Linked DNA regions of Homo sapiens: regions 1, 2, 3, 4, 5 and 7 are each linked to region 6. The links are contacts of gene promoters, found by promoter capture Hi-C in blood cells and fetal thymus (Javierre and others, 2016). All regions are on one chromosome and are shown on one strand. Each heading gives the region's core, a stretch centred on a gene start or on the middle of the fragment in contact. The rest is flanking DNA. Distances are from core to core; before and after follow the strand shown.

Region 1 (3,581 bases), core at 628-3,127, 590 kb before region 6:
AATTGCCTCCATACAGTCTGAGGGTCTTGCTATAATCCATTCTCTACCTGGGCTGCAGTAAGCATTGAAAGTATATATTAATTAGCGGTTATTTTCCCCGATATGTACTTAGGGCTTTCTATGTGCTAGAGTCCAAAGTCAGTGGGTGAGTGAGTGGGTGAATGAATTATTATTTATTTATTTGTCTGTTTAAGACAGGGTCTTGCTCTGTTACCCAGGTTGGACGGCAATAGTGCAATCATAGCTCACTGTAGCCTATAACTCCTGGGTTCAAAGCAATCATCCCACCTCAGCCTCCTGAGTGGCTAGGGCTACAGGTTCTCAGTCTTTGTTATGCTGAGTGTGGTGGTACAGGCGTGTAGCCCTAGCTACTCAGGAAGCTGAGGTCTCTGCTATGTTGCCCAGGCTGGTCCCGAATTCCTGGCCTCAAGTGATCCTCCTCCCTTGGCCTCCCAAAGCATTAGGATGAGCTACCATGCAAAGTTTGTGTTCTTAACCACTAAAAAATAAGAGACCTCTTTAATCTTCATATTTACTTCTAAATTATCTTAATGGTGCTGAGTCACAACTTTCTGGTGGATTGACTGAAATATAGGAAATGCGGAGGGAAATGGTCTATTTTATACTAGAAAGGGATACATATTCAAGTGATGAATTGTGTTATCCAGCACCATTAAGGATAAGAATTTATAACAATGGAAATATTAAGTTTCTGTAGATATTTTTAAAAGCCTTTAGAGAGCAACTTTTGAGCTCTGAAACTGGTTTCAGGTAGGCTCAAGACTATACTTTAGGACTATTTTCAGGTTATCAGAGTTTCTTTGCATTCAATGCCAGATATTTCCTGAGTATCTTGGCCTAGCCAGACCATCCTACCACTCCTAAAATTTATACTACTTCTCCTATAAATCTCCCCTATAAAGATTATTTTTATTGGCTGGGCATGATGGCTCACACCTGTAATCCCAGCACTTTGGGAGGCCAAGGCGGGTGGATCACATGGTCAGGAGTTCGAGACCAGCCTAGCCAGCATGGTGAAACCCCATCTCTACTAAAAATACAAAAAATGAGCTGGGCATGGTGGTGCTTGCCTGTAGTCCCAGCTACTCGGGAGGCTGAGACAGGAGAATTGCTTGAACCTGGCAGACGGAGGTTGCAGTGAGCCGAGATCGAGCCATTGCACTCCAGTCTGGACAACAGAGCGAGACTCTGTCTAAAAAAAAAAAAAAAAAAAAAAAGATTATTTTTATTACTCCACGGTTTTTTTTTTTTTAAACAATGTGTGAAAAGTCAGGCCCTGGAGGCTGAAGTTGGAGGATTACATGAGCCTAGGAGTTCTACTCCAGCCTGGGCAACATAGCAAGATGCTGTCTATAAAAATCGAAATAAAAAATTATGTATGAGAAAGGCCTCCAGATATAGAGGGTTACATTCAAAGAATTGTACATTTAGTTACTTTAATCAAGGCAGAAAAACAGTGATAAGCTTATAATATTTGCAGTACAAAGTTTGGATTAAAAAAAAATCCAAAAAAACTCCCTCATTTATTTCCATCTGATTATATACAATTTCTCAAATAACTGATGTGAAAGTATGTGGACAACTAAAGCGTACAATACATACTTGAGGGATTACTTATATGTTAAAATTGTAAAACCTCAAATTATATAGATTTTAAAAAATGCATAGACATCCTATTTACTCCAGAGATGATACCTAATAACGAACTCTTAAAATTAATAACATATTATGTTAGAGAAAGTCAGCTTTTGTCTTGATTTGGAAATGTCTGCTTTGACATGACTGATCTAAAATTGCTCTCTTGAGCACATCTGTAATCCCAGCATTTTGGGAGGCTGAGGCAGGCAGATTGCCTGAGCTCAGGAGTTCAAGACCACCCTGGGCAACATGGTGAAACCCCATCTCTACTAAAAAAACAAAAAATTAGCCAGACGTGGTGGTGGGCTCCTGTAGTCCCAGCTACTCAGGAGGCTGAAGCAGGAGAATCGCTTGAACCCAGAAGGTAGAGGTTGCATGCAGTAAGCTGAGATCACGCCACTGCAATCCAGCCTGGGTGACAGAGGGAGATTATCTCCAAAAAATAATAATGATAAAAAAAAATTAAACTGCTCTCTCATTATAAAGTCAGGTTCTTGTTTCAGTAGGAGTTAAAAAATAGCTTCTCCTATCCTGATTTGAGGAAGTGGGGGAAAGTCCTAGGCCTGTATGATACAGGGCCAGAATTCAGCAAAATTACTGTGCTTCTTTCAAAGCTTCCTTTCTACCTGCCAGCATCAATACATTCCTTTCTCAAAAGATGTTTTATTTTGGTTTTTAATAATTAAAAGAAAAAAACTATCTTCCCTTGTAAGACTTTTAACACATTATAGTATCTCAGAAGAGCAGGTAAAACATCAAATAGAAAAAAAAAAATAAAATCTTGATGAATAATTAATATTATATATCTTCTACAATTTGATACACAAAACAATAAAAACTTAATTTTAACCTTAATACTACCTTTAGGGACTTTTTTGAACAGCAGAAATCATATCTCCATTTTTAATTGTGGTACTTTTATGGAAGCTTCTCCAACTTCTTTTGATATGTCTACTCCAAGAGGACATCTACATCATAAGCAGACAAATCGTATTATTTATTTGCTTCATGATCCATCACTAGTTCTGCAGACTATTTGCTTAGAATTCTGATGGTATAAATATCAAATATTTAATTCATCATATGTGGTGATGATTCTTAAATACTTACAAATATACTGGGACCTCAAGTCAGGATAATGAAAGCTAGTCTCATTAATAAGAAATCTAAATTTTGAGATATTTTTGAAAGAAACAGTTTTGCTGTTCTCAAATACTGTAAATAAGTTAAAAACATAAAATGAAATATAAAAATAATGAAAAATATCTTATAATTCTCTACAAAGCTAAAAAGGTAAAAACATTTTTGCCACACAGCTAAAGTCAAACCTGTATCCATTCACATTTTAGAAATGTCCTAGGTTTCTATAGGTTCTTCTCTGAAGTTTCAAAAGCTGCCTTGCCCCTTTTCTACCATCCTTTGCCATTACTAGCCAAAGAGGTCTTAGTTCCTGCTGTCTTTTTCTGTTCCTCCTCAGTAACTAATTTTTGCTTCAGATTTCTGCTTTTCTACCATGGTGTCCAAGATAAGGCTTTGCTTTGACTGAATCCCAACCTGGAAAAAGCCATTATCTCCAGCCTCAACACTGCCACAAGGGGGCATAACTGAATCAGAGGATATACTCTATCTGAGACAAGGTATCAAAGGGATGCCTTCCGGTACTACTAACTCAATTCAGTTCATTCATCATCAGCATACATGTAATTCATATATAGCACAACTGTCAAGTTACGGAATATAATGCTGACAAGTTGTGTTTTTTTTTTTTTTTTTTGAGATGGAGTCTCACTCTGTCACCCGGGCTGGAGTGCAGTGGCGTGATCTCGGCTTACTGTAACCTCCACCTCGAGGATTCAGGCAATTCTCCTGCCTCAGCCTCCCGAGTAGCTGCGATTACAGGTGCCTGCCACTACGCCTGGCTA
Region 2 (3,758 bases), core at 1,057-3,556, 900 kb before region 6:
CTTTGAGTTTCCCCTTGGCACATAAATACATCAAAAGTATAATAAGTTTTTGTTTCTTCCCATGATAAGGTAAGGTCCAGTAACATACAGATTTTGTTAACTATTTTTCTCACTCCAGTATTCCCAGAGCCTGAAAGAATGTCTGGCATATACTAGGCACTTAGTAAATATTTCCTGGATGGAAGATGCCAAATAAGTGTTTCTGGAAAATCCTTTTCCTTCTGTATATAGGCTATGCTCTTTCTTGCTATTCCCTTATTTCTTCTAACTGAAAGGAACATGAACTGTGAGCATAAGGACAAAACCAATATGGTTAAGGACAATAACACAAAGAACAAAGTAGAGAAAGCACAGGTCCCTGGTGGCATGAATGATCCACTGCACTAGCCCTATTCTGCCTACCTCAGCCTTCTTGTTACATGATAAAGACAACGCACTATTAATTAAACAGCTGTAGGTGGGATTGGTTCCTTAAAAATTATGTAAAAAGAAATCAAAATACAAATGACTTATCTTTCTGGGCACTTCAGTAAATTAAAACTCTGTGTAAAATAATCCTCCTATACATTTATCAATCCAGCTAGTTTTTGTCCATATCAGGATTTCTGATTCTTTTCTGAAAAATCTAAAGTTACCATACAGTAACATACAACTAAAGTCACACTAATTTGAGTGAAAATATTTATTTTGTTTCTTGGCTCAGGCCCTAAGGAAAAGCCTGTATCAGGTTACAAAGTACCCAACAAAGTCTTTAAAAGATTTATTGTGCATACATCAAGAGACTAAACAAAAAGAGGTTAAGGCTGCAGAATCAAAAGTGATATTTTACACTCCATCCACTGTGACAAAGGGTATCACAGTCATGAAAGAGAAAGCTGGTTACAGCTTGAGATAAACCAAAATTATTAAATATCTCCCTTTCTAGTTCTGGCTCCCCAAATAATAAAGTTTTGAGCACTTTAATAAGCTAGACTCCTCAGTAAAAAGTAAATTTATCCCTGATTTTTACAGTGGTGCTGTCCCAGGATATGTCTTGACCTTTGTGAATATTGTATTTCTCCACCATAAATAAACTTATAGGTATAATCATGTGTGGCTTAATGATGGGGATATGTTCTAAGAAATGCATTTTAGGTGATTTCATCATTGTGTGAATATCACAGAGTGTACCTACACAAACCTAGATGGTACAGCCTACTACACACCTAGGCTGTACGTTATAGCTGATTGCTCCTAGGCTACAAATCTGAACAACATGTTACTGTACTCAATATTGCAGGCAATTGTAACAGAATAGTATTTGTGTATTTAAACACATAAAAGGTACAGTAAAAACACAGTATTATAATCTTACGGAATCACCATGTTATATGCATTGATTGAAAGATCCTTATGTGACATGTGACTATATTTGAGACCTTGGTAATTTTGTGGTAAATCCACAAATCAAGAAGCGAAATCAAAATAGGCAACATAATATACAGGGTCCAAGAATATGATACGTGTAAGTTTACAAAGGAAAACTGGAGATAAACTGGCAAAAATAAACATGTTGAGATTTTAGGGGTTCCTAACCCACAGATTCTATTCACTAATGGGAAAAGGTAAAACTCAGGAAACCAGAGACCAGCGCCCTGAAACCTGGCGGGACTGGCCGAATGTCAGATTAGCCCGAGCAGCTACACTGAACGCTGCGGAAGATGCACCAGAATCCCGGAGTAGGAGCCAGATTTCCAAAGGAAGAAAGCTAGGCCCTAGGACTGTGGAGATTCTGTAGTAACCTAAGCGATGTTCACAAGAACAGAAGAACGGCTAATGAGAGGAACAAAAAGCTGTACAAGGAAGAGAAAGCTACCTTTCCACCCAATAACTCAACGCTGCGACCGAGAAAACCAGGGACGCGAGAGGCTCGCGTCATCCTGCAGCGCCGACACCACAGACACTAGAAAGCGACGCCTCCGGTGGGACGACTGGAGGTCACGTGGTACACTATACGCCACCTTTCCCTTCTGGCGGAAAAAGCCATAGAGTCAGGTTGACAAGGCCTGAGAGAAATATGTCTGTATTAAATAATTGTGTATAGGTATATAATAAAAACTGATTGTCTCTAAATCTCTGTTTTGCTTTCACCTTTTCTTACAAGTGTCTTAGTTTGACATTGCCCACACAAAAGGTGCCTGCACGGAAGCGGAGTCCTACCACCGAGTCTCAGGCCTAGAAGGGCCCGGGGGTGGGTTCTGTGGGCTGGGAACAGCCTTATTACCCGGCTCAACGAAGGAAGTTCAGGGCGGGACCAGAGATTGGCCATTCCGCTACTGCGCAAAGATGGTGGAGGAGGAGAACATCCGCGTGGTTCGTTGTGGCGGCAGCGAGTTGAACTTTAGGAGAGCTGTGTTCTCTGCAGATTCTAAGTATGAGGGGCACCGCGCTTTGTCGGCTGAGGGGCGGGGCGTGAGTTTCTCGAGGGTCGGGGAGAAGGAATTGTCAGTCGCGTTCGGACTCGCCCGCCTGGCGGATATCGGCTTTGGGTAGAGCACGCGCCTGTGGGGGATCCCCAGGGTACCTGGGAGGTCCCGTTACCACTGCAGATTGGGTTGCGTCCCCCGATTCCTGGACAGTTTACCTGCAGGTAGATAAAGGCCCTGGAGCCGGTCTCCGTGTCGAGGATCTGGAAGGTGTTCGGGCGGCTGGAAAATGGTCCAGGGGTGGATGTGTATGCCACTACCTTTGCAGTACCTACTCTTTCGTACAGAATCATGTTTTGGAGTGACTAAAACCTAAAACTATTCCGCTTTTTCTACCCACTCCTCACTCCTGAAGCATAGTGCATGAAGCATAGTGCAGTCTTTTCGGAACTTTACATGAAAACAGATGTTAGATTCTTTATGAGATAAAAATACGCTAAGACTTGGTCTCTTTTCTCAGTGTAGCTGGAAACCAAACCACTCCCTGGCTTCAAAATCCACTTCTTACATTATGAAACCTTTGTAAGTTTCTTAATCTTTGCCTCAGTTGCCATCATCTGTAAAGGGGGACAATATTTAGTTCATCTCACGTGGTTATTGGGAGGATTAAATGCCTCAATATGTTAAAACTACAGACAACAATGCCCGGCACATAATGGCTCAATGTATGTAGCTGTAATCATTATTACTGTATTGTCAGGTTTTCAAATAACTTTAGGTAGGGTGGCACTTAATAAAATCAAAAAACCCTTTCTGCCTTAGAAGAGTAGAGATAGTATTTTATGAAAGTTTGTAGCCTCCACAATATTCTTTTTTTTTTTTTTTTTTTTTTTTTTGATGCAGAATCTCACTCTGTCACCCAGGCTGGAGTGCAGTGGCTCAATCTAGGCTCATTGCAACCTCCGCCTCCCTGGTTCAAGCAATTCTGGTGCCTCGGCCTCCTGAGTAGCAAGTATTATAAGCGCGGGCCACCACGCCCGCTAATTTTTGTATTTTTAGTAGAGAGAGGGTTTCGCCATGTTGGCCAGGCTGCCCTGGAACTCCTGGCCTCAAGTGATCTGCCCACCTGAACCTCCCAAAGTGCAGCGATTACAGTGAGCAACTGTGCCCGGCCCACCCCCACAATATTCTGCATATGAGTGTACGACAGGTAGTTGTTGAAGGTAATGCAAGCATGACTGAAAGAGCTTTTATAAATTGCCTTAGAAGCCAAAAAAAAATGAGTCCTGTGGCTTTGTTGACATTGATCTTATGAATCAAAGGAAGAAACAGGCTTTAAGAGGCTGTCACACT
Region 3 (3,504 bases), core at 909-3,408, 650 kb before region 6:
CAGTTGACTACAATTTAAACTACCATTTTGTATTTAATTGTTACAGAAAAATAAAAGTTTTGCCAGCATAGAAAGAGAAGTAGCAAATCACTTCAAAGTTAGAGAAACATCTTTTTTTTCTTTATTTTTTATAGCTACTATGTGATCTATTTTGAACTAGAAACTTTCTATCAGCAACTATATAAGACACAGTGGTGGGGAGCCATAAATGAAATAGTGAACAATCTGAGACTGAAAAGACTTCCACTGACAGATGCTCAATTACATGAACAATTTAAGAAAAAGCTTGGTTTCAAAAGAGCTATGAAATGCAAGGTATTTCAGTGACTACCACATAATTTAGTATATGAAGTTATGTATTATTGATAAGTATGTGTCTCAAACAGATGTTTATCCTAGGGATAATAATAGGTTAAAGTCTTCAACATGAAATAAAATGCCACATTTTAGTAGCTGAAAGGCTATACAATTCTGGATTATAAATTTCTGGCAGAGTACCTGTTAATGCACTGGATTGTGATTAATCTCAATAACGGCTTATACGTATTGATTGCTTATTTTGTATGTTAGGCAATATTATAAATCAATGAACTCTTTTAAGGTACGACTAGTTCTATTATTATCATTCCTGTTATACAAATGAGAAATTTGAGGTGTAGAGAGGGATCTTTCACAAATCATATAGTAAATGGCAGAGCCAGGCTTCAGTCCTGGGAACTAAAACCTAAAGAGCAGACCTAGCATCATCAAATCTCCACATCTGTTTCAACAAGCCTTGAAGTACAGCTTCTGGAACTGAGCAAAGAAGCTCACCAGCTTCAAAGGTTAGACTGGTATTTACTTTCCATTTATTTGTTTTCACGTCCACAAATTAAAACCTCAAAAATTTGTTAGTTGAATTTTTAAATATTAGTCAGAATGTCTAAAGAGGGTGACATTTTTACCTTTGGATGACAAACTGTATTTCTACAGCTATATATTTCAAATTTCTAGACTTCTGAATTAGGTTTTTCTTAAATCAGAGAAGGAACCCAATGATCTCCATTTGCTTTTAAAATATTTTAGAAAAAAATTAATAATAAAAAATTCCCCAAAATATTTTTTAAATTCTTAATATTTGCTTATAGCTCTAACTACTTTAATCATTATCCAGTAAGAAACTTTCCATGCATGGATCTTGTGAAAATTCTACTTAATTTTAACAGCATTCATGTGATTCTGTTAATACACTTCATGTATTTTTTTCCTTAAACCAAACTTTAGGTGCATTTTGATAAACTGATTCTGGCCTTCTTAATTTTAGAGTATTCCATTTGGTATGAAGTCCGCTGTTGAAAGAGGGTTGTCTGCAGTTTTCCACACATTTAGCCGTAAAACCTCAAGCTCAACAATCAATGTTTCAGATGAAGCAGGTTATACTATTTTTCATCATGCTGCCCTGCACAACAGAGTTTCTATTATATGTCAACTGTGCAATGCTAACTTCAAGGTCAACCAGAGGCGCTTTGTTACGTTCAGCCAAGGTACCATAAAGTTTTTTAACCTAAAATGTTGTTATTTTATTTACCCTTACTCAGCATTAGGAATGCACGTTGATTTTAGAGCAGGTTAAAATTTGGTATTAACTAGAGCAAAGTTGAGGTTTTTGTTTCATTTATCTAAGAAAGGCTTCTTTTAGTTTTCTAAGTATCACTTATAGCTAGCTTATATGGTTTTATATTTGCTCATTGTGTCTCCTTCATTTGAGTATAAGCTCTATAAGAGGGCAAAGATTTAGCCTACTTTATTTGCCGTGGTATACTAATGTCCAGATGAAAGTGTGGCTTAATGGTTGCTCAGAAAATATTTGTTGAGTTAATGCATGGATGGGTGAAGGCAGGATATCATTTGATAAGCACTGGCAAAATTAATATACACTGATATACTATAGAAATTCAGAGAACAGCAATAGATATGACTGTCAGGTCCCAGTAGAACAATCATTCTTTATTCCAGGATCCTCAAACAGGGAATAGTTTCTTTATATTACATATATTTAAATTACATTTAATAACAAAAAATTTCTTTATCATAATAATGTTTAGCATTAATAGCCCCTTTAAGGTTAACCTCATTTAAACTTTAAAAGCTATTTTTGTGATTATTAAATATGCATGGATATTTTATAATCATTGAAATAAATTTAGCTAGAATAAAAACAGAGTTGAAAATGAAATTGGTGGCCCTCCATAACTGGAAAGGAAAATATAGATAAATTGTCAGGGGCAGGTGTAGTGGCTCACTACTGTCTTGCCAACACTTTGGGAGGCTGAGGCTGGAGGATCACTTTAGACTAGGAGTTCAAGATGAGCCCGGGCAGCATAACGAGACCCCCTGCCCATAAAATTAAAAAAAAAAAAAACTTAGCCAGGCTTGGTGGTACACGCCTGTAGTCCTAGCTACTCTGAGAGGCTGAAGCAGGAAGATTGCTTGAGCCCAGGAGTTTGAGGTTACACATATATATGTACATATATATGTAAATTGTCAGGAATGGCCAATGCAACAATATTGGCAATAAGAAGTGGTGATTTTATATTTAATGAAGTCAGCTATCTTAATAAGCTATGTTAAATTTTTACAGACGCCAAAACAAAATGTTTTGCTTTAACCGTATTGAATATCCATAAATTCTGTACTCTATCAGTATGATTAAAATGTTTTGATATTCAGATTCTTCTGTTACTGAAAATATTCAATACATAATACATAATGAACCTAATTAAAATAAGACACAATTCAATCACATTTAAATGCAATAGGTAACACTATTTAAAGATGTATTACTTTAAGCCTTTTTTAGTGTGGAAAAAGTCTTTGATAAATTAAAAGTTTCTCATGCGCCCTCTGACTGCTTGAGTTTCCATTTGCTGAGAATTAGGTAGATTTTGAAGTGTGGAAAACATAGTACTCTACTTCCAATATTATTGCTTAACCAACACAAAATTGTCCCACCTGTGAGTTTTAAGCAGCCATTTGGGGGGCAGAGTTTCCAGGTCTGCTTTTAATGCGTTGTCAGGTTGCATATGACATGCCTGGATGACTTGACCAAAAGTTATTCTCAACACTGTTCGATGTAATCTTGCCAGATACATCTACATAGTCATTTTGTTCTTATTCATATGAGTCTTCTTGAACAACTTAGGAAACTGCTGTATATTAATGATCATACTTCTATGTGCATTCCCTTTTAAAACAGAGTCATCCAAAGTAGAGGTAAAAAAGGAAAGAAATGGTAAGACATAAATAAAGTATTTGGTGCATTTAAAAAGGCTATTGCATATATTAGAACTTTTCTTATAGTATATAATCTCTAAAATACTGTTGCATCAGAATGTTGCATAATGATGTTTTGTATTCATTTTGAAGCATAAATTACTTTCTACTCATAGTTATTTATTGGTATTCCTCTTCAGTTTGGGGAGTTTTCTCTTTTTTTCCTGTGGAATTTGCTGTCACCTTTATTTT
Region 4 (4,027 bases), core at 253-2,752, 750 kb before region 6:
GAACACCAATGGTAAAATGGTTAAAGGTTTGTATTTGTGTCACAGAAGTACCTCTGTACTACTTTTTTTTTTTTCAAATGGAGTCTCACTCTGTCGCCCAGGCTGGAGTGTAGTGGCACAATCTCAGCTCATTGCAACCTCCGCCCCCAGTTTCAACCGATTCTCCTGCCTCAGCCTCCTGTGTAGCTGGGATTACAGGTGCCCACCACCATGCTCAGCTAATTTTTGTATTTTTAGTAGAGATGGGGTTTAACTATGTTGGCTAGGCTGGTCTCAAACTCCTGACCTCAAGTGATCCGCCACCTCGGCCTCCCAAAGTGCTGGGATTATAGGTGTGAGCCATGTACTACTTTTTAAAAAATGTCTCACTTTACAAGCAGTTGACCAACTCAAACAAGACTGTAATCCTAGCAAATTAAATGTATTAATCTGCCTATTGTGAGGTGATAATGAGCTGATGATTGGATATTTAGGAAATAATTCCTCACCAAAGTCTCACAAACTGCATTAAATTGGTATCTTCCTTTACTTGATTGTGCTATCTGGCCCTAGGGAAAATCTGGTTCTTTTTCTCTTTTCAAGCTGTTCACATTTTTCAAAGCACAAGTATATGACAACTCTTCTGACTTCTTGTGTTCACATATTTCAGAGACTTCTCATCAGTGCCATTTGTCTCAAATTGCTTTGCAAACCATAGCAGTATATAAAATCACCACTGTAAAAATGTCCCAGAAGTGCCCTAACTGTGCCTTTTGGTCAAATTAACTAGCTATTGCCTTCATATAGAAGATCAAAATAACTAACACTTCCAGTTCTCTGCCAAACACATTCAAACAAAGGCAGTTTGGCTACACAACTAAACCTAAAAGTTCCACCACAGATATAAACTGATGGTTCAACACACAAAAGCGTGGGTAAGCATTTCTGAGGAATACTTACAAAGATTACTGGTCAAAATCTTTCTCTAATTAATTTAGCTATATATGTATGTCCAGGTTAGCCCTGAGTGTAAATATTGTTCACATTGTCCCTATATAACTCTGTCACACTCTCAAGAGAAAGAAAACTTCTCTACTGTAATCAATTGGTTTAGAAATTAAAAGAGGGAAGAAGAACCTTCAGGTATTTAATCTAGACCTTTTTTGATTGATACATAATGAATGTACATATTTCTGGGCTACATGTGATATTTTGATACATGCACACATTGTGTAATGATCAAATCAGGATAATTGGGATATCTATCACCTAAATATTGATCAATTCTCTAGGTTGGGAAAATTATAAATCTTCTCTTCTAGCTCTTTTGAAGTATACAATAAATTACTATTAACTATAGCCACCCTACTGTGCTATGAAACACTAGAACTTATTTTTTTCTATTAAACTGTATTTTCATTCCCTTTAACCAACTTCTCTTCATCCTTACTCCCCACTACTCTTCCCAGCCGCTAGTAATCACCATTCTACTCTCTACCTCCATGTGATCAACATTTTTTAACTCCCACATCAGTGAAAACATGCAATAATTTTCTATGCCTGGCTTATTTCACTTAACATAATGTCCTCCAGTTCCATCCATATTGCTCAAATGACAGGATTTCATTCTTCTTTATGGCTGAATAATATGTGGTTTTATATATACATATACATTTTCTTTATCTATTCATCTGTTGATGGACACTTAGTGTGATTCCATTTCTTGGCTATTATGACTATTGCTACAATAAACATGGACATGCAGATATCTCATCAATGTACTGATTACCTAGCAGTGGGATTGCTTGATCATATGGCAGTTCTAATTTCAGTTTTTTGAAGAACCTCCATAAGGTTTTCCATGACTGTATTAGTCAATTTTCCCACTGCTATAAAGACGTACCTGAGACTGGGTCATTTATGGAGAAAAGAGGTTTAATTGACTCTCAGTTCTGCAAGCTGTACAGGAGGTATGTCTGAGGAGGCCTCAGGAAACTTAAAATCATGGCGGAAGGTGAAGAGGAAGCAGGCACAATCGTCACATGGTAGAGCAGGAGATAGAGAGCTAAGGGGGAAGTGCTACACACTTTTAAACAACCAGATCTCATGAGAACTCACTCATTATCACAAGAACAGCAAAGGGAAGTCCACCCCAATGATTGAATCATCTCCCGCCAGCCCCTCCTCCAACACTGGGGATACAATTCCACGTGAGATTTGGGTGGGAACACAGAGTCAAACCATATCAATGACTGTACTAATTTACATTCTCACCAACAGTGTATAAGGATTCCCTTTGCTCTACATCCTCACTAGCATTTGTTATTGTTTGTCTTTTTGATCAGGAAGATAATAACCATTCTAATTGGGATGAGATGATATCTCATTGTGGTTTTGATTTGTATTTCCTTTATGATTAGTAATGTTGAGCATTTTTTCATGTACTTTTGGCCATTTGTATCTCTTCTTTTGAAAAATGTCTATTCATGGCCGGGCATGGTGGCTCACGCCTGTAATCCCAGCACTTTGGGAGGCCAAGGCGGGTGGATCACCTGAGGTCAGGAGTTCAAAGCCAGCCTGACGAAAATGGCAAAACCCATCTCTACTAAAATTACAAAATTAGCCAGGTGTGGTGGCATGTGCCTGTAATCCCAGCTACTCAAGAGGCTGAGGCAGGGGAATTGCCTGAACCCGGGAGGCGGAGGTTGCAGTGAGCCGAGATCACGCCATTGCACTCCAGCCTGGGCAACAACAGTGAAACTCCATCTAAAAAAAAAAGAAGAAGAAGAAGAAAAATGTCTGTTCAGATCATCTGATTATTTTTAAATTGGATTTATTTATTTACTTATTTGCTGTTGAGTTGTTTTGAGTTATTTGTATATTCTAGTTATTAATCCCTTGTTGGATGAATAGTTTACAGCTATTTTGTCCCATCCTGTATGTTGTTTTCTTTGCTGAGCAGAAGTTCTTTAGCTTGATGTAATCCCATTTGTCTATTTTTGCTTTTGTTGCCTGTGATTTTAAGGTATTACCCCAAAAAAATCTTTACTCAGACCAATATCCTGAAACATTTCCCCAGTGTTTTCTTTTAGTAGTTTCATAGTTTCAGGACTTACACTTAAGCATTTAATCCATTTTGATTTGATTTTGTATATGGTAAGAGATAGGGATCTAGTTTCATTTTTCTGCATATGGATATCCGGCTTTCCCAGAACCATTTATTGAAGAAAACGTCTTTTCCCAGTGTATGTTCTTGAAACCTTTGTCGAAAATGAGTTCACTGTAGGTGTGTGGACTTGTTTCTGGGGTCTCTATTCTGTTGCATCTGTCCATGTGTCTGTTTTTATGCCAGTACTATGCCTTTTGGGTGACTACAGATTTTTAATATATTTTGAAGTCAGGTAGTATGATATCTCTAGCTTTGTTGTTTTTGCTCAGGGTTGCTTTGGCTTTCTGGAGTCTTGTGTGGTTCCATATGAATTTTGAGATTGCTTTTTCTAGTTCTGTGAAGAATGTCATTGGTATTTTAACAGGCATTGCATTGAATCTGTAGATCACTTTGGGTGATCTTCCATGAGCATGAGACATCTTTTCATTTTGTGTGTGTCCTTTTCAACTTTTCTCATCAATGTTTTATAGTTTTCCTTGTATAGATCTTTCACTTCTTTGTCTCAATTTATTCCTGGGTATTTTATTTGTTTGGGTAGCTATTGTAAGTGGGATTGCGTTCTTTATTTCTTTTTCAAATTATTAACTGTCGGCCAGTAGAAATACTGTTGATTTTTGAACATTGATTTTTGTATCCTGCAACTTTACTTAATTCATGTATTGGTTGTAACAGGTTTTTGGTGGAGTCTTTAGGTTTTTCTCAATGTAAGAGTATGTTGTCTGCAAATAGGGATAATTCTTACTTCTTCCTTTCCAATTTGAATGTCCTTTATTTTTTTTTTCTTTGAACATAAATTTTATCTCCTGGCTCAGCTATTAAGAAATTAGACACTATTTTGTAAACCATTCCCAGGAACAGGACTATAAATGCCAGAAGGAA
Region 5 (3,740 bases), core at 800-3,299, 670 kb after region 6:
CTCATGTTTGGGCTGGCCAGGTGGCTCACGCCTGTAATCCCAGCACTTTCGGAGGCCAAGGTGGGCGGATTGCCTGAGCTCCGGAGTTCAAGACCAGCCTGGGCAACATGGTGAAACCTTGTCTCTACTAAAATACAAAAAAAAATTAGCAGGGCATGGTGGTGTGCACCTGTAGTCCCAACTACTCGTGAGGCTGAGGCAGGGGAATTGCTTGAACCCAGGAGGCGGAGGTTGCAGTGAGCTGAGATCGCGCCACTGTACTCCAGCCTGGGAGACAGAGAGAGACTCTGTCTCTAAAAAAAAAAAACAATGAATAAATAAGCTCATGTTCACAAATCTGGAGTCAGTCTCATCTACTCACAAAACCTGTTACCAACTCAGGGAGTGGCATGGCCATCTCCCAGTCACTGAGCTCAAATCTCAGATTTAGGGTTGATTCCTTCCACTCCATCCCAAGACCTGCTCCTTCCTGTCTCCAACATTCTACCTTCCCAGTCCAGCCTCTGCTGCCCACAGATTGGACCACATCAATCTCCTGTGCAAAAATCCTATGATCTGTCCATTCCTAGGCAGATTTCCACCCCACCCCATCTTCATCCATCAACAAAGCAACCCAGTCACCAAATCATTTACTGTTTTTCAACTGTGCCCAACATTTCTGCTTTGCTCCAGCTACTCGCCCTTGGAAACAGCCTCTCCACAAATTTTTGCGTCTCTAAATCCTATAGCATTCAAAGCTATGTACAAAAGCCCCTTCTTTCATAAAGTTGTCTGAGACTTACTCACAATTAAGCTTTCTTTGACTTGCGTCTCACTGAATTCTGTACCTCTATTAGAGCATCGGTTCCAGTTTTCCTTGTAAAGCTCTGTGATGCCTCCAGAGTCCCCGGCGGGGGAAGGTGGGTGGGGAGGGGGTAGAGTAGTGGGGTATTTTGCTTTTTAACATCTTATGGACCTTGGACAGTGCCCTGCATATACTATGTGCTCGAAACAGTTTGTTGAATTGAAATTATGTATATTTCAGACGGAATTAGAAAGTAAAAAGCAAACCATATTATGATCTCACAAGTGTGAGTCCAGCATCCTCATTAAGCAATGGTTGCACAATGGACTGTGCTGGAGGCTCAAGTCCTGTTTCTGTTCTATGAAAATAACTCCTTATCTATACAAACAACATTCAAAGCACAATCAACCACACCTCTGCATACCTACCACAGAACTCTTCAGTACCGGCCAGAAATTTTTTTAAGACTATATTATTTTGGGGTGGGGGGTCTGCAAAAACTAAACATCACTTTTAAACTCTAGGAAGACATTAAGCCCTTCCATCTTTGAACATAGAAACATAATTAAGATTCCGAAGTCATGTACTCATTCATCTGATTCCATGAACATTTACTGACCTGCCACCTTGTGCCCCAACAAGGGCCTGGGGATTCAACCAAAGGAGCAGCTACGCACAGCACGTTAGGTGCCAAGACTGTCGAGGTTATATACACAGAGTGCGAACGTTAACCTAGACAGCTCTCGAGGATGGCATACAGCAAATGAAACTTTCTGCGAAAAGAAGAAAACGTGACTGATGGAAAGGGGTGGAAACGGGAGAAAGTGACGGTAAATGGGAAGGTGCAGTGCCTTCTAGAGGAAAATTATATTTCACAAGTCCTCTTCACTGCCAGAGCACGACTGGCAAGGACAATCGTGCTGAGCAGTGCCATCTCCGAGAACAGGTGGCACTGCTCGCACTTGGAATACTCAGGACGCGTTCTTCCTCTGGGATCACTATTCGCGGGTCAGCACAGACGGCCCGTCCTCGCCCGGCGTCCAACTGCACGGCCCGAGGACTCTGTCCCTGCGCGTCCCACCCCCGGCACCCGGAACCTCACGGCCACTCACTCTGCGCGCAGGATCCGGAAGGGCTAGGCGGGGGCGCGGCGGTGCAGCCTCTCCCGAGCGCGCTGGGTCGCCTCTGCTCGGTCTGGGGTCTGCCAGGCGCGATCCCCCCGGTGCAGCCGAGCCCCTCCGCAGACTCTGCGCAGGAAAGCGAAACTACCCGGCAGGAGAAAAGGCAGCGCTGGCGCCCGGCCCCCTTCCGCCCCCACCAATCACCGGGCGGCTCCGCGCTCAGCCAATTAGACGCGGCTGTTCCGTGGGCGCCACCGCCTCCCTCTGCGGGCCGCTGCTCCGCCCACGCGCTGGGGTATTTCCGCCGGCTTCCGGCGGGGGCCGCCGGCTGGGTGAGCTGCAGCCCAGTCCCGTGTTGCCACGCTGGGAACTGGCGTTCTGTTTACATATCTTAGAGAACGATCAGAAGGACGTGCTGTGTTTGCAGAAGCCCAAACTTGGAGGTCTCTGTAGTAGTTTCATCGCCGAGAATCCAGGCAGAGGACAGATTTGGCGACGTCGTCATTCTAGAAGCTCCCTTTAGCAACTGACCTCCGTGTTGCTAAACCCAGGGAACGCTTTTCTGTTTTTCTCACTTTACTTGACAGCTCGGAAGCATGGGGCAGAGTTGACGCCTTTGTTCTTGAAACACGTTTCTTCCTTGGTCATGATGATAACACATCCTTCTTGCTTTTTCCTGCCTCTGGCATTCTTTCTACATTGCCTCCACCTCCACTATCAAACCATTATATGTTAAGGTTGTCAGGGTCCAGACATTCGTCAGCTTCTTTACCTGGGCTTCTCCTAAACGCTGTGCTGTGATGACCTCACCCACAGCTTCAGTTTCCTTCTAGATGGAGGAGTCTTAAATGCTTATCCCGTCCACACCTCTCCTCTGGGCTTCACACCTACAACTCCCACTTGCCTCTCCACTTGTATGTGCAGTGAGCTCTACAAACTATGTTCAGAACCAAACATCTTTCTCCTCAAACCTGCTCTTTTTCTAGAAATGGCACATGACAGATACCTAGGATTCATAGTTGACATTGCCTTCTCCCTCACCTCGCAACACCTGATCCTCAAATCTTAATTGATTCTTCCTCCTAAATATTTCCCAAGTCTCATTTACTCTGCTCCATCTCTTCTGCTGCCTCCTTCTGCAGTAGATTCCCGAATGGCTGCCTCACTTCAGCCCTTATCTACCTTTTAATCCATTCTCCATACAAGAGTTTGAGTGTTTTTTTTTTTAATTGAAAAGCAGATCATGTCATTTGCCAACCTGAAAATCCTTCCATGGCTTTTCTTTGCTCTTATAAAATTCAGTTTCTTAATACATACTATAAAGCCCTGGTTGCCCGATCTCTTTGTCCAACCCCATAATGTGCCACTCTGCTTTGCTTACTTCAGCATTTAGTTCTTCAAATAAACCACACTCTCCAAACTCAGGGACTTCTCACCCTGAGTTTGGAAAACCCCTTGAGCCAACATCTGCTTCACCCAACTCTTCGCTGGCTAACTCATCTTTTAGATCTTAGTTTAAAAATCTCAGCTTAAATGTCACTTCTCCAGGTAGGCATTGCTGAAGCCAGACAAACTAAATCTTTTTGGACTATATGCTCATAAAATCAATTAGTTCCTTCAAGTAGACGGGATTTGAGTCAAGCCTTGAATAATTAGGCACTTTGGGGTAGGAGAAGGATCTGAATAATTTCCCATGGATATGCCTATATGTGTGTGTATGAGTTTTTTTTCTTTGCACATCTATTTGTTCTTCTTGTCACAAATGCACCCTCACAAAGCAAGTTAGCAGTGAAATTAGACTTCTCTGCCAAGAGATGCCACGGCACCAAAAGTGT
Region 6 (3,632 bases), core at 760-3,259:
TATTTCTGCAAATCACTTAAACTCTTTAAGTCTTAGTTTTCTTGTTTATAAAATGGAGATAACAGTAACATTTACCATAGGGTTGATGTAAGAATTAACAGTTATAAATCACAGAAAGTACTTAGCACAGTGTCATTAGCTATTATTATAGCAGCAAGAGAATACTCTCCCAGGCAAAAGCAATAACATGTATAAAGGTGCAAATGTATGAAATCTGTTTGCATATTCAGGGAACTAGATGTGGTGTAGTAAAATGAGGTGTAATATTCAAGGGGCAGAGTTGACAGATGCGAGGGGTGATGGGTCTTGAATGAGTTGTTCAGGAACTTGCTCTTGATATTATCAGAGATTGGGAGCCAATGAAAGCTTTTAAGCAAGCAAGAAACCCTGCAGATGTGTGGTAGCAAAGTGGAAAATGGACTAGATTCCGCCAGGTGCAGTGGCTCACGCCTGGAATCCTAGCACTTTGGGAGGCTGAGCTGGGCGGATCCCCTGAGGTCAGGAGTTCGAGACCAGCCTGGCCAACATGGTGAAACCTCGTCTCTACTAAAAATACAAAATTAGCTGGGCATAGTGGCAGTCACTTGTAATCCCAGTTACTAGGGAGGCTGAGGTGGGAGAATCGCTTGAACGAAGGAGGCAGAGGTTGCAGTGAGCCAAGATCATGCCACTGCACTCCAGCCTGGGCGACAGAGTGAGACTCTATCTTAAAAATAAAAAAAAAAGAAAAGAAAAGAAAAGAAAAATGGACTAGATTTATATCCCTTGCTCCACCCTGTCTTCCCCAAATTTAAATTCCTGCTTCCTAGAGGCAAATTCTTTCACCTTCTATGTCTCTGGTATTTATCTCCTTACTTTTAAGAATCATGTTTAAATTGTTTCTTGATTTTGCCATCATAGATATGATTATGAGGCTAATTAAACAGTAATCCTAACCGCTCTGAGAATGGACCTAAGAAATGAATGTGAGAAAGAAAGTAGAAGCAGCCCACTTGCTAGTGAGTGAAAGCCAGGGAAGGGTGGGGGGATGCGGGGAGAAATTGTCTCAAGTTGGAGAACCCAGGTGCAGGCTGGGAGCAGTACCATGAATTCCATTCAAGAAGCCAAACGTTTTAAGCACCATTTCCTGGAGTTTGCCAAGTTGAGTATTGACCCAGCCTCCTGTCTTGTTGGTTCCTCACTGCTGAAGAAGACCAAGTGTTGACAACTCAGTGAGGCAGTCTCAGCTGGAGTGGAAAAATGTAGCTAAGAAAACGTGCCAGACAAAGCTTTAAGCAGAGCTTCCCAACTGGATGCCGTGAAACGAATGACAGGGATGCAGATACAGCATGGGTCTTCCCAGCCCTCCAAGTGCAAGGGCTTCTGCAGGAAGCCTTCTGCAGGAGCAGCCTCTTCTGTTTACCCCCATTTTGACCCTTGTAATATCATCCTTTCCTACCTGTGCCAAGAAGTGAAAAGGTGTGTGAAGCGCCGCTTTAGAAGGCCCAGTACATTCACAAACATCAGCTTCTGGGCGAGGCTGCTTGGCCTCTTCTATTCAAAACTTTGTGTTGCCCTTTTAAGGTTTCTATTCCCCCCACCCCCACCCCGCCCACCAACACCCATTCCTACCTAGGTTCAACCCAAACCATCCTTAAGGTACACTGAGTATCACAGCACCAAAGGCTGGAGAGAGATAAGTTCCCCACCCTTGATGCGCTTCCTGTCCAGGTGGCCCGAGGCCCACTCCTTAAGAGGCAAGGCCCAGAGACACTGCTGTGTCTTGAGGAACATCCAGTACACCTGACATTTCCATTAGAACAGTGGGACCCGGATACCACTGGCAGGAAGTCCATCTTCACAGCTGCCAACCCATCTGTCAAACCCGCAGTCCCCTATGAGAGTACAGATGAATGGAGGAGGAAGATTTAAAAGTGAATTCGTGGGCGGCGACAAGGAAACAGCAGCCGTGGCCAAGCTGACCCCAGAGCCCTTCCCTTCCTGGCCCTCCCTCTGAATCATCGCGCTCCACTTGTGACGTCGCGGACGCCCGGCTCGGGCAGGCGTGGGGGGCCCGCGCGTCCCGGGAGCCCCGAGGCGGCAGCGCGCGTTTCCACGCCGCGGTCCCGCGGGAAAGCCGGGGGCGGCGGCCTGGCTGAGGCCAAGCTCGGATCCGGTGCCGAGCCAAGCGGGGCCGTGCGTCGCCGGGGCTTCGCCTTCGCTCGCGTGACCTCCGCCGTCCTCCCCAACCCTCGTCCTCTGGCCGCGCCTGCGGCCGCACGCCCAGCGCCCCTCGCCTAACCTCGCGCCCGGGCCGCGCCTCCTCCTCCTCCTGCTCCCCGCCGCTTCCGTTTCTCGAGGGAAAGGCTGCTGCCTCCTGCTCTGTCCTCATCCCCGGCTTAGGTAACACGTTTTCCTCCTTACGACACCCACCACAGGGTCCCCGCGCCGCTGCCCCTCCTCCTTGGATCTGGGGCCCGGGCTGGTGAGCGGCGCGCGCCGTCGCCTCTCCGCGGGTAGGTGAGTCGATGGCGCCGGGAGGGTTCCTCGCCTCTGCGCGCCGGCCTGCGAGGTCCCTGCCCCGGCAGCGAGGCCGCCCCCGGCCGGGCCCGGCCAGGCATGCCCGGCATCGCCGCTGCAGCCAGCGCGGAGGGGAGCTCGTGAGTCCCGCGGCGCCCTTGGCCCTGCCCGAGCGGCCCGATGGGGTTGGGGGGCGGGAAGAAAGGGTGGCAAACAACGATTTTAAAAATCCAGTCATTAGTATTTGTAGGACGAAGAAGCTGATCTGACAGTTGTCCAGAGCAGTGGCCCAGCTGCAACAGGTAGATGGCGCAGCTGTCAGTGACCCCTTGGTCTCAGCCTTGGCTTTGAGAGATGCATCTGAGTGTCCCTAGCTGCCAGCTACCTCCAGTGACCTACTTGATGAGTGTGAAATAAATATGATGGGACTATATTTAGAAAAATCTTTACTTCCTTGCTGTTAATTCTCTCTGCATTTTGAAAGGTGGTTTTGTGAGGTGTGCATAATTAGTTGGTGTGTCCAGAGTGGTAGCTGGAAAAAAATATTTAACCTGGGTTTGGCCCTATCATGTAGACGGTTAGGCGCAAAGAGTGTGAAAGGAAACGCTTACTTTAGTACATCTGTGAAAAACACTTATAAGAAACCACGGCTTGTTTTTTGGAGATTTCTCATTTTAAAGGTATTTTTAAAGTGTTGAATAAGCAGAAGTTTGCCCACTGTATGATGGTGTTCACTTCAAAAGAACAGTGGGTTAAAAGTATGGACAGACCACTTAAGTGGATCCCATCTGTTGAGTAAAAGATTTTTTAGCCCTTTTACACTGATTCCTAGCTTTGAAGCCAGAAAAGTTGATAAGGATCAGCCCTGCTCAACTTGATAATAGTATAAGGATGAAAGTAATCCACTGAACTACTCTTGATTGGTGAATTAGCTAAGTGATCTCATTCTTACCTTTTAAAATAGAGAACATAAGGGAAAAAATAAAGGCAATGGAAGAATTCATTTTTTCAATACAGATATTTGTTTCCATTCTTATGTAGAGCCTACTTTATTTTTAAGTTTTTATGGATTTTTATACTACTTTTGAAGTCAGCTTAGTCATGAAGAGAATTATGTCAAATACATAGAGTTA
Region 7 (3,890 bases), core at 684-3,183, 690 kb before region 6:
AAAGCGAAATTTAACAAGTAGCAACAATCTTACAAGATAAATACGAGCCAAAAACTTCCCATGCCCTTTGACCCTTTAACTCTATCTATTCTATTATTATTCTAGTAAAAATGTAGCCTTAGGGTCAGCGGCAGCTGGAGCCTTCTGAAACCGGCTAATTGTTAAATTGTATATGCTGGAACCACACAAATAAGCCCACATAATAACCAGCTAACAGCACAATGACAGGATCCACACATACCAATACTCACCTTGAATGTAAGTGGGCTAAATGCCACAGTTAGAAGGCACAGAGTGGCAAGCTGGATAAAAAACCAAGACCCAATGGTATGCTATCTTCAAGAGCCCCATCTGAGATGTAATGACACTCATAGCCTCAAAATAAAGGAATGGAGGAAAATCTACCAAGCAAATGGAAAACAGAAAAAAGCAGCAGTTGCAATCCTAACTTCAGACAAGACATATTTCAAACCAACAAAGTTCAAAAAAGACAAGGAAGGGCATTACAGAATGATAAACGTTTCAATTAAACAAAAAGACCTAACTATCCTAAATATATGCACCCAACACAGGAGCACCCAGATTCATGAAGCAAGTTCTTGGAGACCTAGCAAGAGACACAGACTCCCACACAATAATAATGGGAAATTTTAACACCCTACTGACAATATTAGACAGATCATCAAGGCAGAAAATTAACAAAGATATTCAGGACTTAAACTCAGCATTGGACCAAATGGATCTAATGGACCTTTACAGAACTCTCCACCCAAAACCAACAGAATATACATTTTTCTCATCCTCACGTGGCACATACTCTAAAATTGACCACATAATTGGACAAAAAACAAATGTCATCAAATGTAAAAGAACTGAAATTATACCAAACACACTCTTAGACCATAGCACAATAAAAATAGGAGTCAAGATTATGAAAATCACTCAAAACCATGCAATTACATGGAAATTAAACAACATGCTCCTGAATGACTTTTGGGTAAATAATGAAATTAAGGCAGAAATCAAGAAGTTCTTTGGAAATGACAAGAACAAAGATACAACATACCAGATTCTCTGGGACACAGATAAGGCAATGTTAACAGGGAAATTCATAACACTAAATGCCCAAATCAAAAAGTTAGAAAGATCTCTAATAACCTAACATCACAACTGAAAGAATCAAAGCAGCAAGAACAGCTCCCTCCCCGTCCCCCTCTCCCTCTCCCCACGGTCTCCCTCTCCCTCTCCCTCTCTCTCCACAGTCTCCCTCTGATGCCCAGCGGAGGCTGGACTGTAGTGCCGCCATCTCGGCTCACTGCAACCTCCTGCCTGATTCTCCTGCTTCAACCTGCCGAGTGCCTGTGATTGCAGGCGCACGCCACCAGGCCTGACTGGTTTTGGTATTTTTTTGGTGGAGACGGGGTTTCACCCTGTTGGCCGGGCTGGTCTCCAGCTCCTAACCGCGAGTGATCTGCTAGCCTCGGCCTCCCGAGGTGCCAGGATTGCAGACGGAGTCTCACTCACTCAGAGCTCAATGTTGCCCAGGCTGGAGTGCAGTGGCGTGATCTCGCCTCGCTACAACCTCCACCTCCCAGCCGCCTGCCTTGGCCTCCCAAAGTGCCCAGACTGCAGCCTCTGCCCAGCCGCCACCCCGTCTGGGAAGCGAGGAGCGTCTCTCCTTGGCCGCCCATCGTCTGGGATGTGAGGAGCCCCTCTGCCCGGCCGCCCAGTCTGGGAAGTGAGGAGCGCCTCTTCCCAGCCGCCATCCTGTCTAGGAAGTGAGGAGCGTCTCTGCCCGGCCGCCCATCCTCTGAGATGAGAGGCCCATCGTCTGAGAGGCGCTCCCCAGCGCCTCTGCCCCGCTGCCCATCGTCTGAGATGTGGGGAGCGCCTCTGCCCCGCTGCCCCATCTGGGATGTGAGGAGCCCCTCCACCCGGCAGCTGCCCCGTCTGGGAAGAGAGGAGCATCTCCGCCAGGCAGCCGCCCCGTCCAAGAGGTGGGGGACAGCCCCCGCCCGGCCAGCCGCCCTGTCCGGGAGAGAGGTGGGGGGCAGCCCCCGCCCAGCCAGCCACCCCGTCCGGGAGGGAGGTGGGGGGCAGCCCCCGCCCGGTCAGCCGCCCCGTCCGGGAGGGAGGTGGGGGGCAGCCCCCGCCCGGCAGCCGCCCCGTCCGGGAGGTGGGGGGCGCCTCTGCCCGGCCGCCCTGTCTGGGAGGTGGGGGGGCCCCTCTGCCCGGCCGCCACCCCGTCTGGGAGGTGTACCCAGCAGCTCATTGAGAACGGGCCATGATGACGATGGCGGTTTTGTCAAGTGGAAGAGGGGGAAGTGTGGGGAAAGGAAAGAGAAATCAGATTGTTGCTGTGTCTGTGTAGAAAGAAGTAGACATGGGAGACTCCATTTTGTTCTGTACTAAGAAAAATTCTTCTGCCTTGGGATGCTGTTAATCTATGGCCTTACCCCCAACCCCTTGCTCTCTGAAACATGTGCTGTGTCCACTCAGGGCTAAATGGATTAAGGGCGGTGCAAGATGTGCTTTGTTAAACAGATGCTTGAAGGCAGCATACTCGTTAAGAGTCATCACCACCACTCCCTAATCTCAAGTACCCAGGGACACAAACACTGCGGAAGGCCGCCGGGTCCTCTGCCTAGGAAAACCAGAGACCCTTGTTCACATGATTATCTGCTGACCTTCCCTCCACTATTGTCCTATGACCCTGCCAAATCCCCCTCTCCAAGAAACACCCAAGAATGATCAATAAATACCAAAAAAAAAACAAACAAACAAACAAAAAAAACAAAACGAAGCAAGAACAAATCAACTGCAAAGCTAGCAGAAGATGAGAAATAACAAAAATCAGAGCTGAACTAAAGGAAATCAAAACATGAAAAACCACTTAAAAGATCAACAAAATCCAGGAGCTGGTTTATTGAAAAAATAATAAAATAGATAGGCCACTAGCTAGACTAATAGAGAAGAAAAAAGAGATGATCCAAATAAAACACAATTGTAAATGATGAAGGGAATGTTACCACTGACCCCACAGAAATAAAAACAACCACTTCAACATTCGGTCAAGTTGTATTTCTTTTGATGATATCATATCTTTGCAACGTTATACTTTTGGTGGTTGCTAGGATAAAGTACAAATACCTTGTGAAAATCAGTGAGGAACAGAAAATGAAAGTTATGATGTCCAATCTGATTCCAAGGTTTGAGAAGTTATATAGTGCCTAACAGGCATACATATCCCATTAGCAATCGTGTTAATTTAAGAATAAAATAAAAACATTATATTCTATTTCAATTTATGTATTTTTTTAATGGCTACTAAGTTGTTAGAACACAAATACTAAGTTGTTTAGATTTAACTACTTACTAAAATGACTTATTTGGGTTTTTTGTTTGTTTTTTGTTTTTGTTTTTGGCTTCAGAGACCATGAAAAATTATGGGGACAATAAGAATGCTGTGAACTGAAAAGTTTAGGAGTCTCTAGCTTAGGCATCAAACTCATCAAGAAGGAATAATGGGACTCTAGATGCTAAGCACCAGAAAGTACAGCCATAAAAAAGTTAAAAACAAATATTGTATTGAAAATATGAAAAGGAACTAAAGAGCAGAATTACCACATGGGACAAATAAAAATATGTAACCATGTATTTAGCACTACTTGTAACACTAAAAGAATGGAGACAACTCAAATGTCCAGAAATAGAAAGGTGTTTGAATAAACAATGATAGAATACATGATATAATACCATGCAGCTGTCAAAGGGATGAAGAATATTACTATACACTACTGTGGAATGATCTCCAGTATATAATATCTGATAAGAAAGTCAAAGTGGCAGAAAATATGTATAGTATGTCATTTGTCTAAACAAAAGGGTAT

What was found. The method cuts DNA at HindIII sites, captures the fragments that hold promoters and counts their contacts. A CHiCAGO score of 5 or more calls a contact.
Region 1: a contact is called between a fragment that was not itself captured here and the fragment with the promoter of INPP1 in region 6, in 1 of 17 cell types (monocytes). The highest score is 5.2, in monocytes.
Region 2: the fragment with the promoter of WDR75 here is called in contact with the fragment with the promoter of INPP1 in region 6 in 6 of 17 cell types (monocytes, non-activated CD4 T cells, total B cells and 3 more); the score reaches 13.6 in monocytes.
Region 3: a fragment that was not itself captured here is called in contact with the fragment with the promoter of INPP1 in region 6 in 1 of 17 cell types (neutrophils); the score reaches 10.0 in neutrophils.
Region 4: a fragment that was not itself captured here is called in contact with the fragment with the promoter of INPP1 in region 6 in 1 of 17 cell types (neutrophils); the score reaches 6.1 in neutrophils.
Region 5: the fragment with the promoter of STAT1 here is called in contact with the fragment with the promoter of INPP1 in region 6 in 2 of 17 cell types (activated CD4 T cells and non-activated CD4 T cells); the score reaches 6.0 in activated CD4 T cells.
Region 7: a contact is called between a fragment that was not itself captured here and the fragment with the promoter of INPP1 in region 6, in 1 of 17 cell types (neutrophils). The highest score is 8.9, in neutrophils.

The regions. Positions count from the first base shown.
Region 1 is chr2:189,748,030-189,751,610 of GRCh38, forward strand. It overlaps OSGEPL1 (O-sialoglycoprotein endopeptidase like 1), which reads right to left. Exons shown (of 9, transcript NM_022353.3): 8 at 2,521-2,627. The coding sequence ends at 2,549. It also overlaps a transcript of ANKAR not described here. Among named protein-coding and RNA genes, the nearest start is that of OSGEPL1-AS1, 13 kb to the right of the region's middle. The HindIII fragment of the contact is 788 bases long and covers 1,484-2,271 here.
Region 2 is chr2:189,439,168-189,442,925 of GRCh38, forward strand. WDR75 (WD repeat domain 75) reads left to right here and starts at 2,307. Exons shown (of 21, transcript NM_032168.3): 1 at 2,307-2,411. The coding sequence starts at 2,326. It also overlaps a transcript of COL5A2 not described here. RefSeq lists enhancers at 1,173-1,871, 1,643-1,802, 1,823-2,042, 2,303-2,432, 2,453-2,682 and 1 more. The HindIII fragment of the contact is 5,353 bases long and covers 1-3,758 here.
Region 3 is chr2:189,694,847-189,698,350 of GRCh38, forward strand. It overlaps ANKAR (ankyrin and armadillo repeat containing), which reads left to right. Exons shown (of 23, transcript NM_001378068.1): 6 at 135-315; 7 at 1,304-1,523. Among named protein-coding and RNA genes, the nearest start is that of ANKAR, 22 kb to the left of the region's middle. The HindIII fragment of the contact is 3,751 bases long and covers 284-3,504 here.
Region 4 is chr2:189,588,418-189,592,444 of GRCh38, forward strand. No RefSeq gene overlaps it. Among named protein-coding and RNA genes, the nearest start is that of SLC40A1, 9.6 kb to the left of the region's middle. The HindIII fragment of the contact is 6,560 bases long and covers 1-4,027 here.
Region 5 is chr2:191,012,122-191,015,861 of GRCh38, forward strand. STAT1 (signal transducer and activator of transcription 1) reads right to left here and starts at 2,050. Exons shown (of 25, transcript NM_007315.4): 1 at 1,897-2,050; 2 at 1,404-1,557. RefSeq lists enhancers at 132-191, 232-291, 1,403-1,722, 2,333-2,532, 2,563-2,642 and 1 more and silencers at 1,813-2,012, 2,043-2,282. The HindIII fragment of the contact is 15,587 bases long and covers 792-3,740 here.
Region 6 is chr2:190,341,580-190,345,211 of GRCh38, forward strand. INPP1 (inositol polyphosphate-1-phosphatase) reads left to right here and starts at 2,010. Exons shown (of 7, transcript NM_001128928.2): 1 at 2,010-2,382. LOC124906109 (serine/arginine repetitive matrix protein 1) reads right to left here and starts at 3,470. Exons shown (of 1, transcript XM_047446773.1): 1 at 1-3,470. The coding sequence starts at 2,737. The coding sequence ends at 1,859. RefSeq lists silencers at 1,996-2,305, 2,376-2,705. The HindIII fragment of the contact is 2,404 bases long and covers 1,267-3,632 here.
Region 7 is chr2:189,651,723-189,655,612 of GRCh38, forward strand. No RefSeq gene overlaps it. Among named protein-coding and RNA genes, the nearest start is that of ASDURF, 7.8 kb to the right of the region's middle. The HindIII fragment of the contact is 5,241 bases long and covers 1-3,890 here.